2 separate regions of the Homo sapiens genome follow, and region 2 is linked to region 1. Evidence: promoter capture Hi-C in 16 types of primary human blood cells and fetal thymus (Javierre and others, 2016). All regions are on one chromosome and are shown on one strand. The core of a region is centred on a gene start or on the middle of the fragment in contact, and the rest is flanking DNA. Distances in the headings are between cores, read along the strand shown. Region 1 holds the start of OR2AE1 (olfactory receptor family 2 subfamily AE member 1). Region 2 overlaps CYP3A5 (cytochrome P450 family 3 subfamily A member 5).

Region 1 (2,906 bases), core at 73-2,572:
AATTTTAAACTCCATAAATACTCTCTGGTGGCATGTTTTATATATTTTTGTTAATAAAAATAATAATAGATAAGGGCCCTTATATCTTTATCTTGCCTTCTTTTTTTCAGGGTGTCAGTGACCTTTATATGTCTTCTTTCAAAGGGACTTTTTAAAAAGTTTTCCCTAATTCTCTAAAGATCTACTCAAATGTTCTCCACAGTGCTTGGATACCTGACACCAAGCTGGAATACTGGAATTGTGTGTTAAATGTGTTTTTCTTCCAGTAGTAAAACAGCATAAGGAAGCTATCTCCCTGAAAAACTTTAGAGGTTTATATGAATTAATTTAAGGAGCTTATCCTATTCCACTCTACACTCGGGGCAACCACAATTGCAGTCGTTGAATGCACTGGGTGATAACATCTCTCCTCAGCACTCTTCTCAGAGCCTTAGCTACATCTTTATTCCGGAGAGTATAAATCAGAGAATTCAATGTGGGCGTAATGATGCTGTAGAACACAGAACCAACTTTGTTCTGCAATAGAGTGCACTGGGACCTGGGTCTCATGTAGGAGAAGATGCAGGCACCAAACCAAAGAGAAACCACCGTGAGGTGGGAGCCACAAGTGGCAAAGGCATTTCTCTTGCTCCCAGATGAGCGCATCTGAATGACACTTTGAAGGATGAAGACATAGGATGTAGAAATCAGGAAGATGGGGAGGAGGAGGAGAATGCTGCTGATGTACACTGTGGTCTCATACACAGTGATGTCGCCACATACCAACTTCACAACAGCTGGGAACTCACAGTAGAAGTGGTAGACTTTCCGAGGCCCACAGAAAGGGAAGTGCATCAAGATCGCCATGTGAATTAGGGAGTTCACGGATGCCCCCAACCATGACATGACAGCCATCATCAGTCCCACCTTCTTGTTCATGAGCACAGCATAGCGCAGTGGATGACAGATGGCAACATAGCGGTCATAGGACATGACAGCTAAGAGAAAACATTCAGCACCACCTAGACACAAATAGAGGAAGTGCTGGGTTGCACAGCCCACAAAGGAGATAGATTTCTTGCCAGATAGGTAGTTGGTAGCCATCTTCAGGATGATTGTGGAGACATGCATCAGATCCATGAGGGAGAGCTGGCTGAGCAGGAAATACATTGGTGTATGAAGCTGGGGATCAATGCAGATGAGGAGAATGGTGAGGGTGTTGCCACTCACCGCAATAAGGAAGACCACCATGGTCAAGGAGAAAAGGAAAAGGTGGGTAAGGGAGTCATCGAAGAGCCCCTCAAGGATGAAGTCTGCCAGAGAGGTCTGATTCTTCTGCCACATTGTCCCCTTTCTCAATCCCTGAGGAAACAGAGAGTGGAGATAAAGAGTGTGACTGGAAATACTGGGGTCCAGTATACCCAAGGAAAAGCACCTTTTGATAGAGGACAGAACCTGTGAAAAAAATTTCCGTTTCTAATTATTCAACCTCTCTAATTATTCAAATAACCTTTTTTTAAAAGAGAGCTTAGAAATCTGCCTTCACAAACATAATCACTCTGAAATTTCAGAATATCTGGACTCTATTATCAAACTTCAAGTCTCTTCTCGTTAAGAAAGATATATATGTGTGTGTGTGTGTGTGTGTATGTATATGTATGTGTGTATATATTTATTCCCCATTTACTTCCTAGGCTTCCAAAACACACATATGTATACACACACACACACACACACACATTTGTCTTTCTTAATGAGAAGAGACTTGAAGTTTGATACTTAATGGAGTCTAGATATTCTGAGATTTCAGAGTGATCATGTTTGTGAAGGCAGATTTTTAAGCTCTCTCTCTCTATACAGACACACACAGAGAGACAGTTTGGAGAAAAGCTTGGGGGCGTTGCTTATTTTATCAGTGAGGATTTTACTAGAAAAGCTATAACACTAAGAGATTTCTCTTATACAATTGTGGAAGCTGGTTAGGCAATCTATGCGTGGCTGTTACCTTTGTGTCTGATGCTGGAACTTTAATTCCAGAGGGCAAGTAGTCAGGAAAAAAAAAATGGATATAAAGAGTGGCAGATCAAAGTCATGCTGGAACCCACAAGCATGAGCTGCAATCCCACAAAGGCAGACTGAAACCCATGTCAGTTCTTGTTGTCTCTGAAATTGGCGGTGTGGATATCCTGCAGAAGCTGGGGCGCCTCTTTTTTTTTTTTTTTTTTTTTTTGAGTTGGAGTCTTGCTCTGTCGCCCAGGCTGGAATGCTGTGGCCCGATCTCGTCTCACTGCAAGCTCCGCCTCCCGGGTTCATGCCATTCTCTTGCCTCAGCCTCCGTAGTAGCTGGGACTACAGGCGCCTGCCACCACACCCGGCTAATTTTTTGTATTTTTAGTAGAGACGGGGATTTCACCGTGTTCGACAGGATGGTCTCCATCTCCTGACCTCGTGATCCCCCCGCCTCGGCCTCCCAAAGTGCTGGGATTACAGGCGTGAACCACCGCACCCGGCCGCTGGGGCGCTTCTTAATGGCCAGATTAAAAATGCACACACCTGGCCGGGCGCGGCGGCTCACGCCTGTAATCCCAGCACTTTGGGAGGCCGAGGCAGGTGGATCACGAGGTCAGGAGATGGAGACCATCCTGGCTAACACGGTGAAACCCCGTCTCTACTAAAAATACAAAAAATTTGCCGGGCGTGGTGGCGGGCGCCTGTAGTCCCAGCTACTCGGGAGGCTGAGGCAAGAGAATGGTGTGAACCCAGGAAGCGGAGCTTGCAGTGAGTGGAGATCGCATCACTGCACTCCAGCCTGGGCAACAGAGCGAGACTCCGTCTTAAAAAAAAAAATAAAAAAAAAAAAATAAAAAAAAAAAAGAATGCACACACCTGACCCAGAAGTCAGAAAAACTAAAGGAGAATCCAAGGGA
Region 2 (2,794 bases), core at 47-2,546, 210 kb before region 1:
AACTAAAAAATGCCCACTCTCAACATTCTTACTAAAGAGCATACCTGATGTCTTAATACACTAGACAAGAAAAAGAAATAAAAGGCATACAGATTGGAAAGGAAATAATAGAATTGTCTCTATTTTCAGGTGACATAATTGTCAATGTATAAAATGTCAAGGAATATACAAAAAAATTTCTAGAACGAATAGGTAAGTTCTGCAAGGCTATAGGATACAAGATCAACAAACAAAATTATTCACATTTCTATGTAACAATAATCAATATCTGAAAATACAAGAAAAACAGTATCATTTACAGTTACTCCAACAAAAATGAAATATTTCTGGTGTAAATCTAACAAAAGATGTACAGGACCTCTATGCTGAAAACTATAAAATGTTGAGGAAAGTAATAAAAGCTAAAGAAATGGAGAGGCATACTATATTCACGGGATGAAAGGCTGAACATAGTAAAGATATAGATTATACCCAAATTGTTCTATTGGTTTAATTCAAGCTTGTCCAACTTGTGGCCTGCAGGCCTCATGCAGTCCAGGATGGCTTTGAATGTATCCCAATACAAATGTGGAAACTTTCTTAAAACATTTTGAGTTTTTTTGCAATTTTTTTTGTAATTTTGTAATTTGACTATGTGATTCTCAAGTGTGAACTTCGTAGACAACAATGGAATGGAAAGGGGTAATCAGAGTATGTCACATCCACAAATAATGGACTAGTATCCATAATTTGCATTATAATTGCAAACAGTTCAGCAAGAAGAAATTAAAAGCCATTAAAATTAACTAACAAAGAGCGAGAGGACGCTATTGCAGTGCCACGTGAAGTGAATTGTGACAAAGAATTCAAGTGTGTATTCTGGACAAGGCAGAGCGCTGCTGTACACCAGACACTGTCGCCATTTGTACGCATGTGTGGCTTCAGTTTTATGGTGGTGTGCGACTTCCAGTGTGTTATCTTCTAATCACGGACAGTTGAATTGACACTGTCAGGTATTAGGTGTGTTTGTGGCAATTTGGCAAGTAAAACCCAGCAATTATCAATAATATTTCAACCTACCTTTGTAGATGATAGGTGTTTAATATTATTTAGAAGACATGTAAGTATTCTTATTTGATTATTAAACCTTGCTTTCTGTTCTATTTTCCTATCTGTTAATTTCCATAATAAAAGTAAATATAGTTGCTTATCTATTATAATGCTTTTAATTCCAGAATGGCTTCCACAATGTCTTAAAAAGAAAACCCTAAAAAACAAAAATTATGGATGAAGGAAGATTGTTCAATGAAAAGTGGACAAATGACTTTTTCTTGTTGAGGCAAATAGCGAAGCACTCTGCTTAATTTCCACGGAATTTGTGCCAGTTTTCAAAGACTACAATTTGAAGAGGCATTATATGCAAAAACGTGCTGACAAATTTGGTGTGTATGTGTTGTAAGGACAAAATAGCAGAACTGAAAAAAAGTCTGTCTTTTCAACAAAAAAGATTTTTTAAAAAGTTACAACTCGGACTCAATCGTAAGGTAAAACCTAGTTATGTGGTAGCAAATTTAATAGCAAAAAAATCAAAACCATTTACTGATGGTGAGTTTATTAAGCAATGTCTGGAAGATGTGGTAGATATTATTTGCCTTGAGAAACTGATATTTCTAAAATCAGTTTGTCTCACCAGACTATAGCCAGGAGAATTGGAGAAATTGGGAAATCTATTGAAAGACGTTTGGAGAGTAAAACTGCTAATTTAAAATTTTATGCTTTGGTGATGGATGAAGGCACTGACACTACAGATACGGCACAACTTGCTATTTTTATTAGAGGTATTGATGATGAATATAATGTCACTGAAGAAATCGAAATGTCACCATGCTATTAAAAGACACAACTAAATCAAGAGATTTATATGAAGCAGTGAAAAATATGTTAAAGCAATTTTCTTTGTCCTTTGTAAACATATGTGATATAGCTACAGATGCTGCCCTGGCGATGGTAGGTAAAAGAGAGGGACTTGTACAATTAATAGATGATGCAGTTGCCACACAAAACTCACATTTGATGAAGTATTATTGCATAATACATCAAGAAAATCCATGTGCACAAGCTTTAAAAGTAGATAACGTCATGCAAATTGTCATCAAGGCTGTAAATTTCACAAGGGCCCAGGAATTGAATCATCGCTAGTTTCAGGAATTCCTTAAAAGTATGGATGCTGACTCTAGCAAGTCATTCACTTTTTAGAAGTAAGATGGTTAAGTCAAGGCAAAATGTAAAGATTTTATGCTTTGTGATGTGAAATCAAGCTGTTTATGGTATCAAACAAAATTGGTGCCAGAACTTGACAATGAAAACTGGCTTACAGATTTAGCATTTTTAGTGGGTTTGACGGCCCATTTAAGTGAGTTAAACCTGTGTCTTCAAGTTGAAAACCAACTTAACAATACAATGTTTCAAACCATAACAGCATTCCATATGAAACTGAAATTATGGCAAGCTCAAATTAAGGCAAACAATTTTATGCATTTCGACATGTTGGCTAAACATGGTCCTGTGAACAGCCAAAAATACGCAGCCTTGCTTTTCAATTTGATACAGGAATTTGAAAACAGGTATTTCAAGATTTCTGAAAAAATCATCAATATTTTGGTATATTTGCAACTCCATTTTCAGTCGACATATATATGTTACCTGGCAATTTTGAAATGGAATGCCTAGAGCTGCAATCTGATGTTCAACTTATAGAAAAATTTGATTTTGCCTCTTTACTGGACTTTTGTAAGACCTGTCTTCCCAATGACAA

What was found. Contacts are between HindIII fragments. The CHiCAGO score rates a contact against its expected background, and 5 or more counts as called.
Region 2: a fragment that was not itself captured here is called in contact with the fragment with the promoter of OR2AE1 in region 1 in 1 of 17 cell types (erythroblasts); the score reaches 5.7 in erythroblasts.

What each region holds. Positions count from the first base shown.
Region 1 is chr7:99,875,711-99,878,616 of GRCh38, forward strand. OR2AE1 (olfactory receptor family 2 subfamily AE member 1) reads right to left here and starts at 1,323. Exons shown (of 1, transcript NM_001005276.1): 1 at 352-1,323. The coding sequence starts at 1,323. The coding sequence ends at 352. The HindIII fragment of the contact is 12,247 bases long and covers 1-1,867 here.
Region 2 is chr7:99,667,881-99,670,674 of GRCh38, forward strand. All of the region lies in intron 4 of CYP3A5 (cytochrome P450 family 3 subfamily A member 5), which reads right to left. It also overlaps a transcript of ZSCAN25 not described here. Among named protein-coding and RNA genes, the nearest start is that of CYP3A5, 11 kb to the right of the region's middle. The HindIII fragment of the contact is 1,599 bases long and covers 498-2,096 here.